Linked DNA regions of Homo sapiens: all the other regions are linked to region 3. Evidence: promoter capture Hi-C in 16 types of primary human blood cells and fetal thymus (Javierre and others, 2016). All regions are on one chromosome and are shown on one strand. Each heading gives the region's core, a stretch centred on a gene start or on the middle of the fragment in contact. The rest is flanking DNA. Distances are from core to core; before and after follow the strand shown.

Region 1 (3,425 bases), core at 926-3,425, 210 kb before region 3:
CATGATAGCTGGAGATCAAGCAGCCACTTTGGACCATGAAGAGAATTTGAGGACAGCAGCCGAAAGTTAGAAGGATCCTGGATCCATGCCCAGGCTGCTACAGGGCAGCCATGTGTTGCCCACTTCAGGTTTCTTTCTTGTAAGAGATCAATAAACCTCTAGTTTCTTTAAACCATTATTATTATTTGGGTTTTCTGTTTCATGTAGGCAAACCTAACCTGAACTGTCTCCATTTTGTAGATGATTTTAAATGATTAAAAATGAGGCTCGGAGGGGAAGGAAGAAGATCACACAGCTCACAAGAGCTGAGTCAGGATTCAAATCCAGTTCTCTGTGACTCCCCTGGGTCCAGCTTCCTGCTCTCCTCATTGCCTGTGCTATTGGTTCCCAGCAAATCTTGCAGCCAAACCTGGACAAGGAGTGACGGAGAAAATGATGAAGTCAGTTCTGCTAAACTCTTTGCTGCTCACAGTGAAAGAGTCCCTCCCTCCCAGGCTGTCTGCATATAAGCCGTTAAACATGACCAGCGTTGTGGGAAAGAGGGAGGGGAGGTGTCATCACAACGGACCTCACAGAGGAGGTGGTATTTGAGGTATGTCTTAGAGAATAAGACAGTAACAATAGCTGAACCACACAACCGTGACCATCCATCAGACAAAAGGGAAGTGTCAGATGCCAAACCGTGGCCTGGTCAAGACACATTTACTGGATCAGCCGCAAGATCAGGCAGCCTTCCCCAAGGCCATCCCAGGTTCAGTGGTTTACTAGGTGGACTCCCAGGACTCAGCTCATGGTCATACTTACGGCTATGATCTATGGCAGTGAAAGGACTCAAAGCAGAATCCGCAAAGGCGCCGTGGCGAAGTCCAGAGGAAACCAGGGGCAGCTTCCAAGAGTCTGCTCCCAAAAGAGTCACACGGGACACGCTCAATTCCTCCAGCAACAAGTCGTGAAAGCACCTGTGAGATGGGATGCTGCCAGGGACGCTAGGCAAATAGGTTAGGCCCAGTAAGCCACTCTCATCAGTTAGGGTGGTGGGAGCCCTCCCCAAATCCAAGCTCCCAGGTGCCAGCCAAGGGTCAACTTTGCAAGCATGACTTTCTAAAGATAGCAGTCTCCGGCCTGCAGTGTGAAGTCTTTCTGCACAGGGAATTATATATACCTTTCTCCATATTTCTAGGGGTTATTTTGTTTGTTTTGTTTTTTCTTTTGTTTTGTTTTTGGAGACGGAGTCTCACTCTGTTGCCAGGCTGGAGTGCAGTGGCGCGATCTCAGCTCACTGCAACCTCCGACTCTCTGGTTCAAGTGATTCTCCCGCTTCAGCCTCCCAAGTAGCTGGCATTATAGGCACCCGCCACCATGCCCAGCTAATTTTTGTATTTTTAGTATAGACGGGGTTTCACCACGTTGGCCAGGATGGTCTTGATCTCCTGACCTTGTGATCCACCCGCCTCGGCCTCCCAAAGTGCTGGGATTACAGGCATGAGCCACTATGCCCAGCCCACATTTCTAGTTTTAAAATGGCCAAGGGCATGGTTTGTGGTGCCTCAGGCCCAAAGCAGTTGAGAAAAATCTAGTTTACCATGGAAATAATTGTAACAAGTTTTCCAGAAAAGAACCATGAGTTATACAAGAACCCAGGTGGAGGCAGGGCAGGGGAGAAGCAGCGGGGTTCAAAAATCCTGAGCACACTAGACGGGGACTTAGTAGGCCTGGCTTCTGGGCCTGAATTGGCACTCACTCAAGTTCCAACTTGGTCAAGTGTTTCCCAGAAATAAGCCTCAGTTTTCTCTCCGAGGAAATGACAGCATTGGATTTCTTCTGTATCAGCAAGCTTTGGCTGCATAACAAAGCATCCCAGAAGTTGGTGGCTTAAACCACAAAAATGTATTATTTCCCACAGTGCTATGGGTCAGCAGTTTGGGTGGGACTCCGCTTGATGGTTCTTCTTCTGGTGTCCCCTGGCCTCACTGATGAGGCAGCAACCAGGGGACAGCCAAGACAGCCCAGCCTATCTCCTTGTGGTCCTCCGTCTTCCAACAGGCTAGCCCAGGCTTGTTCTCATGGTAGCCAGGCAGGGGGCTGAGAGCAAGAGCAGGAGCTGCAAGGCCTTTTAAAGCTCAGCCTCGAACATCACGGCACATCATTTCTGCCACGTGCTATTGGTCAAAGAGATGCCCAAGGCCAGCTCAGCTTCCAAGGAAGGAGAAATGGACTTCGCCCCTTGACAGCAGAAGCGGCGGCATAGTGAAAAGGAGGTGAACTTGTAGCTAGCTTTCACATCGGCCGTGATCTCTTCCATGTTCCCTTCATTCATTCATTCATTCATTCATTTGTTCATTCATTCCACACTTGCACACCCTCTATGTCCCCAGCATTTTACCACACACCAGAACACAAAAGGTAACCTTGCCCTCATGGGGCCTGGAGAGTAATGGGGAAACAGATGAATAACTCTGCATGTGTCCTGAAGTTATAGGGAATTCACATTTAATTTATACCTGTTTCTTTACAGCAAAGCTTTTTGCAGAAAGGATTTGAACCAACCTGCCAGAAAAGGCACAAGGAATAACATGATACATTTTAACCAAAGAAGATAATTAAAATCAAAGGAGAAAGTGTTTATTGAGCACCTACTATGTCCCAAGCATCTCCGACACATCCTCTCACTCCATGGTTTCCATATCCCCGAGTTAGTGTTATTCCCCTTTCAGAGATAAGCAAAGCGAGGCTGACTAGCCCTAGCTGAGAGTCAAACAGCTGAGTCAGGCCCCAAAGTTCACATGACATCATAGAATAGCTGTCGATGAGCTTTGGATTTGACGATGAGTTTCCCAGCAGCCTGGGGGAGAAGGAAAGTGGAACATATTACCCGATTGTTCACTAGACAAGAAAAAGCCAGATATTTCTTTGAAGGGAAGCAAAGCCCTTCCTAGCAGTGAATTCATTTGTCTCTTCTCAAGTGGGAGTTGGAAGAGAGCTTGTGGGGTGGAACACAGGGGGCCCTGCTAGGACTGTCCAAGTTGGGCGCTCCTATGGCATATATGTGAGGAGGCTGCCACGTGAATGCCCATGGTCCCCTGGAAAATGTTCGTCCTCAGTGAACATCGCCCTCGGTGTCTGTGCATGTGTACGTGTGTATGTGCATATGTGTCTGTGTGTTTCTTTCTGTCTCACTGTCTTTCTCTTTTTTATCTGGCCCTCCCCTCACTTCATCTGTTTGTTTGTTTGTTTGTTTGTTTGTTTCCACCTCTGTCCCTCCCTGGCAAAAGTCCCTGCTGCTCAAAACTCTGCCAGTTTTTAGGAAGTGCTGTTTTGTCAAAAGCCTGCACACGAGACCCCCGTGGGCCAGGACTGACTTCCTCCCCACACAGGGCTGGGCGGGGCAAGCAGGAAGGAGCCTGTTACAGTCAAGGTGACGCATC
Region 2 (3,967 bases), core at 9-2,508, 160 kb before region 3:
AATTGGAAAGCGCAATGAAGAGGAAGAAAAACTTAGACCAAAAAACAAATGAGATCATGTCCTCTGTTGCAACACGGCTAGAGCTGGAGGCCATTATCCTAAGCAAACGAACATAGACAGGAGCAGAAAACCAAATACCGCATGTTCTCACGTATAAGTGGAAGCTAAATAATGAGGACACATGAATACTAGGAGAGGGACAACAGACACTGGGGCCTTCTGGAGGGTGGACAGTGGGAGGACGGAGAGGATTAGAAAAAAATACCTGGTGGGTATTATGCTTATTACCTGGGTGACAAAATTATCCGTATACCAAACTCACATGGCAGTTTATCTATATAACAAACCTGCACATGTATCCCAATCCTAAAAGTTAAAAAAAAACCTAGACCAAGAATTCCTCTACCTGATAATTTTGTAAACATTTCAGAATATTTCCAACACACCTGTTATGTCTCTGCAATGATACTGCAAATGCAGTTTTGTAACCTTAAGCCAATTTTTTTTTTTTTTCTGGAGACAGATTCTCGCTCTGTCCCTGAGGCTAGAGTGCAGTGGCACAATCTCAGCTCACTGCAACCTCCTCCTCCCAGGTTCAAGCGATTCTCCTGCCTCAGCCTCCCGAGTAGCTGGGATTACAGGCATGCACCACCACACCCGGCTAATTTTTGTATTTTTAGTAGAGGCGGGGTTTCACCATGTTGCCCAGGCTGGTCTCGAACTCCTGACCTCAAGTGATCTGCACGCCTCGGCCTTCCCAAAGTACTGAGATTGCAGGTGTGAGGCACCATGCCCGGCCTAACACTTAAGCCTTAAAACTATGAAATCCGGATGTCCACGTGTATACCAGCCAGGACAGGTTAGGTTACACTGTGGCAACAAATATCCCCAAATCTCAGTGGCTTCACACACCACAAGAGGTTATGTCTTGCTCACACCCTATGCCCTGGGATTGCAGGGTAGGGATCGGCATGGAGTCTCTGCTTATCATAGTCACTCAGGGACCTAGGCTGAGGAGGTGCCATCCTGGCATGAATTGCCAGGAGCGCTGTCTGGATGTGACATGCCACTTCCGCTCACATTGCATTGGCCAAAACATGTCACATAGCTACCTCACTGCAAGGCCAGATGAAATACCATCCTACCACCGGCCATGCAACATGGGAGGACAGTAATACTTGGGGTGTGGCACTAGTGCCGATTATAGCTAGGGTGACCAATTGTCCCCATTTTCTCAGGACCAAGGAGTTTTCCAAAATGCCGGCCTTCTTGTGCTAAAATTGGGAAAGTCCTGGGCAACCCAGGAGGACTTGTCTGCTCCTATTGTACCACGTTGTGCGGTCTTTACACACTCACTTTTCAAAACTGCACAGCAGCCATCTTTTAGATGAACCAAGGTTTCTCTCCCCAGTCCCCTATTGCTGGAGACTCAGACTGTTTCCAGTATTCCATGTTTATAAATACATTGTCTTAAATACCTCCATGGATAAAACCATGTCTACTTCTCAGTGGCTTCTCAGAGGTGCCATTGGTGGCCGTTTACAGGCTCACAATACCTGTTATCCATAGGTAATTCAAAAAGGTTGAAACAATACAATTTGCCTTCTGCAGCGAAAGCACGTACCTGCTTTCCTTACCTTCTCCTGGAGCCCAGAGCAGTCATTCTCTAATTGTAGCCTCCAGCTCACCTGGAGAGCTCCTTAAAACAGATTGCTGGTCCCTAGCGCCAGAGTTTCTGATCCACGGGGGCTGGGATGAAGCCTAACCTTTGCGTTTTTGTGTGTGTGGTTTGTTTGTGGGTTTTTTTGTTGTTTGTTTGTTTGTTTGTTTTGATGGAGTCTCGCTCTGTTGCCCAGACTGGAGTGCAGTGGTGCAATCTCGGCTCACTGCAAACTCCAGCTCCCGGGTTCAAGCGATTCTCCTGCCTCAGCCTCCTGAATAGCTGGGATTACAGGCGTGTGCCACCACACCTGGCTAAGTTTGTATTTTTAGTAGAGACCGGGTTTCTCCATATAGGTCAGGCTGGTCTTGAACTCCCGACCTCAGGTCATCCACCTGCCTCAGCCTCCCAAAGTGCTGGGATTACAGGCATGAGCCACCGCGCCCGGCCAGATGCCACCACTTTGCCACCGAACAGGTGACCCTGCTCAGCTACTCACCAGAGGTCTAACCTGGAGCAAATTATGCAATTAGCCTCTCTTAGCCTAGGTTCCTATCTGTGAATTGGAGCAGTTGGGAGGATGGACTACCAGGGTAACCATGAGTTCAGTTAAAAATAGTTACAGTTATTCAGCGGTAAATTAAATAACTTTATGTTTTAAAATATTTGTGAGTTTGAATGGAACTGCATTGATTAACATTTGTATTCCTTTCATATCTGAGTGGGAATGGACTTTCTCCCTGTGAGGGTTAAGCATTTGTGTTTCCTTTCTAGTGTGAATCATCGCTCCTGCCCTTTGCCCATTCACCTGCAGGTTTCTCTGCCTTTCCTCTCCGTCTGCCTGGGATCATTACAGAGCAAAGATAAACCCCCATGGCCGTTCTTGATTGCTAGAGATTTTTCCAAAGCTGTTGCTCACCTGTCTGCTGGGGCCATTTTTCTGGCTTACAAAGTGGCCGAATCCATCTGACTTTCCCATTTTTATTTTCTCTATCACTTTTAAGCTTAGATTGGAGCCCTTCTCCAGAATGTGACAATATAAAGGAAATGGATTTTGAATGATGAGATTTCCTGCACCTTGAGGGGTGGTGGGGGTGGGGGATCCTGGCTCAACTCAAACCCTGTGGTGGTGATAGAAGGCATAGTCAGAAACCAAGAGCCCCTCAGCACCAGGACAACCCACCACCCTCAGCTCTCCTCGACATTAGCCACGCTGTCTCTCTCCCCATTTGCAGAGTCCCCCCGCAGAGAGGCACAGGGCAGGCCAGAGCTGGATGCGCGGCTGGAAGGTCAAAGGCATCATCCTCAGGTTGGAGACAGGATGACCGAAGGTGTAAGAACTGGCCAGAGGAGTTGGACAACTCCCAGCTCAGGTCTCTCCTCGACTGCTTTGGCCGTGTGAGCTTTGCCTCTCTGGGTCTCTGTTGTCTCATCCATAAAATGGGCCTGACCATGCCCAAGTCAACGGAAGGATTTAAATAGATCAGCGCCCTGAGGTCGGTGCTGGACGCCGAGTACACGCGCCCAGTACACAGGGCTTGAGCTCATTACACGCCCCAGTTCTGTTCCTGGGGTGGTGGCGTGAACCCCACTGCCTTTGCCTTTAATTGCACTGAAAATATCCAGCACCGCTGATATCAAGGGCCCAGGTCCCGGCGGAAATGAACTCCCAGACTTGGGCGCCCAGGTTTCCGTGCGCGACCCCAGCCCCTCCGGCTGCAGCTCAGCCCATCGGCCCTGCGCGGGAACAGTGTCACCCGGGCACCCGGGCCAGAACAGGCCACGCGTGTCCCAGGAGCGCGGGAAGCTCCCACGCCCCCTCCCCCGCACCGCTCCTTTGGCTGGCAGAGCGGGTCCTCAGCGCGTCTCAGCCGCACCAAGCGCCTCCCGCTCCCGCGCCACCCGGGCGCGCTGCTGGGGCCTGATTTCCATAATAATCAGCCAGAGATCTCCCGAAAAGGCTGGGAGCGGCCGCCGCCGCCCACCGGGGAAGCTCCCGAGGGTGGGCGCCCCCCTTCCCACCCTCCCTGCCGCCGCCGGGAGGGAGCCTCGTTTTTAAAAGCTTTCGAGAAACCGTCCGTGCGCAGGAGGCAGCTGGGAGACACCCAGGATGTCGTTCTCCGCATTAAGGAGGGGGACGGCGGTGGGGGAGGTGGGAGAGGCCGCGGCGCAGGTGTAGACCAGGCTCAGAGGCAAGGAGGGGAGGAGGGAAACTGAGGCAGCCGCGGGGTGGGGAGACGTTTCAAGGTATATTCTCACTGCAGCCTCACGGCGACCCTGCGGGTGAGTTATCTGCTATGCCCCACT
Region 3 (3,849 bases), core at 186-2,685:
CCAGCCGCCAAAGAGGGGACCGATGTGTGTGTGTGTGTGTGTGTGTGTGTACCCATTCTCCACCTCCCCCATCAACGGTCCCTAACACCGACATCACTAACTTTGCTTAAGGAAGATACTGGATGCGAGGAGGGAAAGGGCTGGAAGGGACTTGGCTCGCCGGAGCCGCACAGCCATGTGACAGACATGCCTCTTGTCACACACATCTAGCACACTCCAGCTCCGTGCGTGTGAGCACACACACACACACACACACAATCCCACGTGCCAGGCAGGCCTCCCCAACCTCCGGCCCACCACTGCCTCAGCCGCCACCCTCGTGGCATGCGCTCTCCTTCCCTCCCTCGGAAGCAGTCCGCAGGAAGCCAACACAGGAGGCCAGACATGGCGGCCTCGGCACACCCGGGGCAGCAGAGACACAGCGGCAGGGGCTATCGGGAAGGCCGAAGGGATGCCTCCCCCAAGAACAGACCCCACCATTCTCCTCCCGTCCTCCACCCTCAGAGCCCGGGCAGGACAGCACCTAGGGCCTGGGTGGGACAGCCTGGCCTGGGCACGGGTCTGGGTCAGGACCTCTTGGAGGCCTCCACCCCAGCTGCCCAACACCCACCATTACCCCTGATGCCAGGCTGGGCCTGGGTGGCTAGGAGCGAAGCCCCCACGGGAGCGGCTAGGAATAGAAGAACCCCCAGGAGGGACCCGGGAGCCTGGAGCAGGGGCCCAGCCTGGCCCCCAAAAGTGGTGGAGCGGTAGGACCTGGGTGCACCTGGAGTCAGGACCAGTACAGGGCACGGGCAGGGCCGCAGGCAGCCCCTAAAGCCCGGAAGAAGGAGAGAGGAAGAGGATCCCTGATTAGGCAGGTATTGAGCAGCTTCTCCCATGAGGCAGTCAGGGACCCCAGCCCAGTAGAAAGGCCTCTGAGAACCCCTTAGGCCAGGGGCCACCCCCAGGGCCCAATGTCACCCACTTGTCACCTGTTCCCTGGTCCTGGAAACCCACGTGTCAAGCAGCAGCTCCAGGCGCAAGCGGTGGAAAGCCCGGGTCGTCTTCACTGCAATGAAGACATCGTGTAGCTGTAGCTTAGGGGGCCCCGGGTTCGGCTGGCTCAGCTCGGGGGTCCCTTGTACCCGCTGCGGGGACAGGTTCAAGTGGTACCGCAGACACAGGAGCCCCATGCACAGGAGGGTGAGGAGGGCTCCAGCCAGGCCCCGCGGGAGCCGGCACTGCATTGGTTGGCCCTGGGACCCCAGACAGCTCAGCCCCCAAATCCCAACCAGACAGGGAGGGGAAGCTGGTCAGGCAGGGGCTCCAGCAGAGGCAAAAGTCTGGCAGGCATCAGGGGCTGGCAAGGAGGGAAGAGGTAGGAGCTGAGGCTCTGGACCCAGAGGCTGAGCCATGGCAGCACGATCTCGACCGCCGCCAGTCCTCCACCTGCTCCCGCTGTCCGGCCTGCCGCAGCCTCCGGGACCGCCTGGCCCCGCCCCGCTTAGCCCGAGGGGCGGGGCCAGACGAAGGGAACCCCAGACAGAGGCGGCTGAAAGGAGGCACCAGCAGAAAGGGCAGCCCCGGCTCTGCCAGCTGCTGCGGTGGGAGGAAGTCACAACAAACCCTCCGTGCCCGGTGGAAGGGAGTGTCCTCCAGCACCGTCCACTCCCCCAGAGAGCTGTCAGCTCGGCCCATTCAACACCCATTACTTTGGTGTCCTGCTTCACCCAGCCCCCAGCTTTTGCTCACAGGTTTCCTCCGGGATGCTCTCCCATATTCCACCAGCCTCACCCACATTCCCTCCACTAGGCTGAGTTCTATCTGGACTTCAAAGCTTAAGGGTTCCCTCCTCCAGGAAGCCTTCCGTGATAACCTCTTAACCTCTGGGGCTCCCACAGTTGTTCGCTCAGTTCCTGAGGTCTTCACAACAGCACTGGGACTGTCGTTCCCAGTTTATAGCTGAAGACATAAGGCACAAAGGCACAGAATGAGCAAAAACGATCCAGCAACTCAGCCGCAGAGCTGGCAGAACCCAGGTCTCTGTTCCTCATCTAGTTCACAGGAGGTCCCCTGAGGGCACCTGTCCAGCTGTGCCCCAGCCCATACCCGACCTCACTCCGCAGTCTCTGGAGCTGCCTCTCTCCCAGCACCTGACCAGTGGACAGACAGAGGGCCTTCTCCAGCCACCACCTCCATCTTGTTTCGCACAAGCTCACTCACACCTCCTCCCTCCTCCACTCAGAGCCTGCACTGGCTCCCATTTTCTTCAGAACAAAAGCCAAAACGCACACAGCAGCCCACAAGGCCCTGCGTGAGCTGGCTCCCAAGTTACTCCCACCCCATCTCCTGCTACTCACCCTGCTCCACTCCAGAACCTGGGACCCTCGCTGGCCCAGGCACCTGGCCGCCACAGGACCTTGGCACTTGCTGTTCCCACCTGGGCCCCTCCCTAGAGACCTGCACGTCTCACTCCCCCACTCCCTTCTGGTCTTTACACAAAGGTCACCGTCTCTGTGAGGCCTTCCCTGACCACGTTATTAACATTGCAACCCCTCGCCGCCTCCTTCCCAGCCCCCCAGGCCTGTCCCTCTCAAGCCACTTCACTGTTTTCTTCATCACACTTTTCATCTTCCAACATTCTGTATGTTTAACTAAGTTTCTGTCCTCCTCATGAGAATATCAGGGCAGGATTTATTTTTTGATCACTGAGTCCCTAATCCCCAGTGCCTAGAACAGTGACCGGCAGACAAGAACTCAATCAATGTTAATTCAACACAACAAAGTACCAGGTGGCTGGCAAAGGGAAGTGGCCCTGCCGGGCTCAACCCTGCATGAGGACAGCTGGGGGAGAGGAAGGGAAAACCAACCCTTTGAATGACCTTCTCATGGGCCAGCCCCCAGCCAGGCCCCTTCACAGGCCATATTCTCAGAATGGTGATGATGCCAGCCTTGGTGATGATCCCAGACTCTGTACCCCACAGACCAGGTTTAAATCCTGACTGGGGGCTGGGCGCCATGGCTCACGCCTGTACTCCCAGCACTTTGGGAGGCCAAGGCAGGCAGATCACTTGAGGTCAGGAGTTCAAGACCAGCCTGGCCAACATGGTGAAACCCCGTCTCTACCAAAAATACAAAAATTAGCTAGGCATTGTGGCAGGCACCTGTAATCCCAGCTACTAGGGAGGCTGAGGCAGGAGAATCACTTGAACCCGGGAGGCAGAGGTTGCAGTGAGCCGAGATGGCGCCATTGCACTCCAGCCTAGGCAACAAGAGTGAAACTCCATCTCAAAAAAAAAAATTCCCAACTGGGCCACTCACTGGCTGTATGACTCTAGGAAAGTTACCTTCATCATTTCTAAAATGGGGACAAAAATATGACTTGGTGACGATTACAGGATGAGTGGGCTTCTCCACCCCACAGAAAGGATGCTTGACACGGGGAACAGGCAAAGGCAGCCAAGTCACAGGCCCCTGCCTTTCCCCAGGCCAAGCACTGGGCCAGGCTCACTGTGGGGCAGGGGGAGGTTCATGTACCCAAATGCACACAGCCCAGTTTCCATGCCCAGGAAGCCACAGACATCGAGAGACAGCCACACAGACACCCTCGTCCCACCACAAGGCAGAATATGGCATGGGCCAGGAGAAGTCCCAAGGGCTGGGAGGACCTGGTGGTGGGTTTCATGGAGATACGTAATATCTCAGCCAGGCTTCAAAGATCAGGAAGATTCAGGCAGGGAGAGCAGCCCAGGCAGGGGCCACATGAGCAGAGGAGCACAGCTAAGGGTAAACTGAAAGGCCACTGCCACTGCCCGCGGTGGGGAGGATGTGGCTGGGGGGATGGGAGAGTCAACACCTGGGAAGGCC

What was found. The method cuts DNA at HindIII sites, captures the fragments that hold promoters and counts their contacts. A CHiCAGO score of 5 or more calls a contact.
Region 1: a fragment that was not itself captured here is called in contact with the fragment with the promoter of MFNG in region 3 in 7 of 17 cell types (non-activated CD4 T cells, naive CD4 T cells, fetal thymus and 4 more); the score reaches 9.2 in non-activated CD4 T cells.
Region 2: a fragment that was not itself captured here is called in contact with the fragment with the promoter of MFNG in region 3 in 6 of 17 cell types (endothelial precursors, non-activated CD4 T cells, fetal thymus and 3 more); the score reaches 9.3 in endothelial precursors.

What each region holds. Positions count from the first base shown.
Region 1 is chr22:37,279,067-37,282,491 of GRCh38, forward strand. No RefSeq gene overlaps it. Among named protein-coding and RNA genes, the nearest start is that of CYTH4, 1.7 kb to the right of the region's middle. RefSeq lists an enhancer at 3,201-3,250. The HindIII fragment of the contact is 686 bases long and covers 1,833-2,518 here.
Region 2 is chr22:37,321,366-37,325,332 of GRCh38, forward strand. The region is part of intron 1 of LOC105373024 (a long non-coding RNA gene); the gene reads right to left. Among named protein-coding and RNA genes, the nearest start is that of CYTH4, 41 kb to the left of the region's middle. The HindIII fragment of the contact is 2,808 bases long and covers 1-2,662 here.
Region 3 is chr22:37,484,949-37,488,797 of GRCh38, forward strand. It overlaps MFNG (MFNG O-fucosylpeptide 3-beta-N-acetylglucosaminyltransferase), which reads right to left and starts at 1,436. Exons shown (of 8, transcript NM_002405.4): 1 at 975-1,436. The coding sequence starts at 1,229. RefSeq lists enhancers at 321-380, 781-830, 1,307-1,816, 1,817-2,328, 2,329-2,838 and 1 more and a silencer at 1,401-1,530. The HindIII fragment of the contact is 3,313 bases long and covers 1-1,817 here.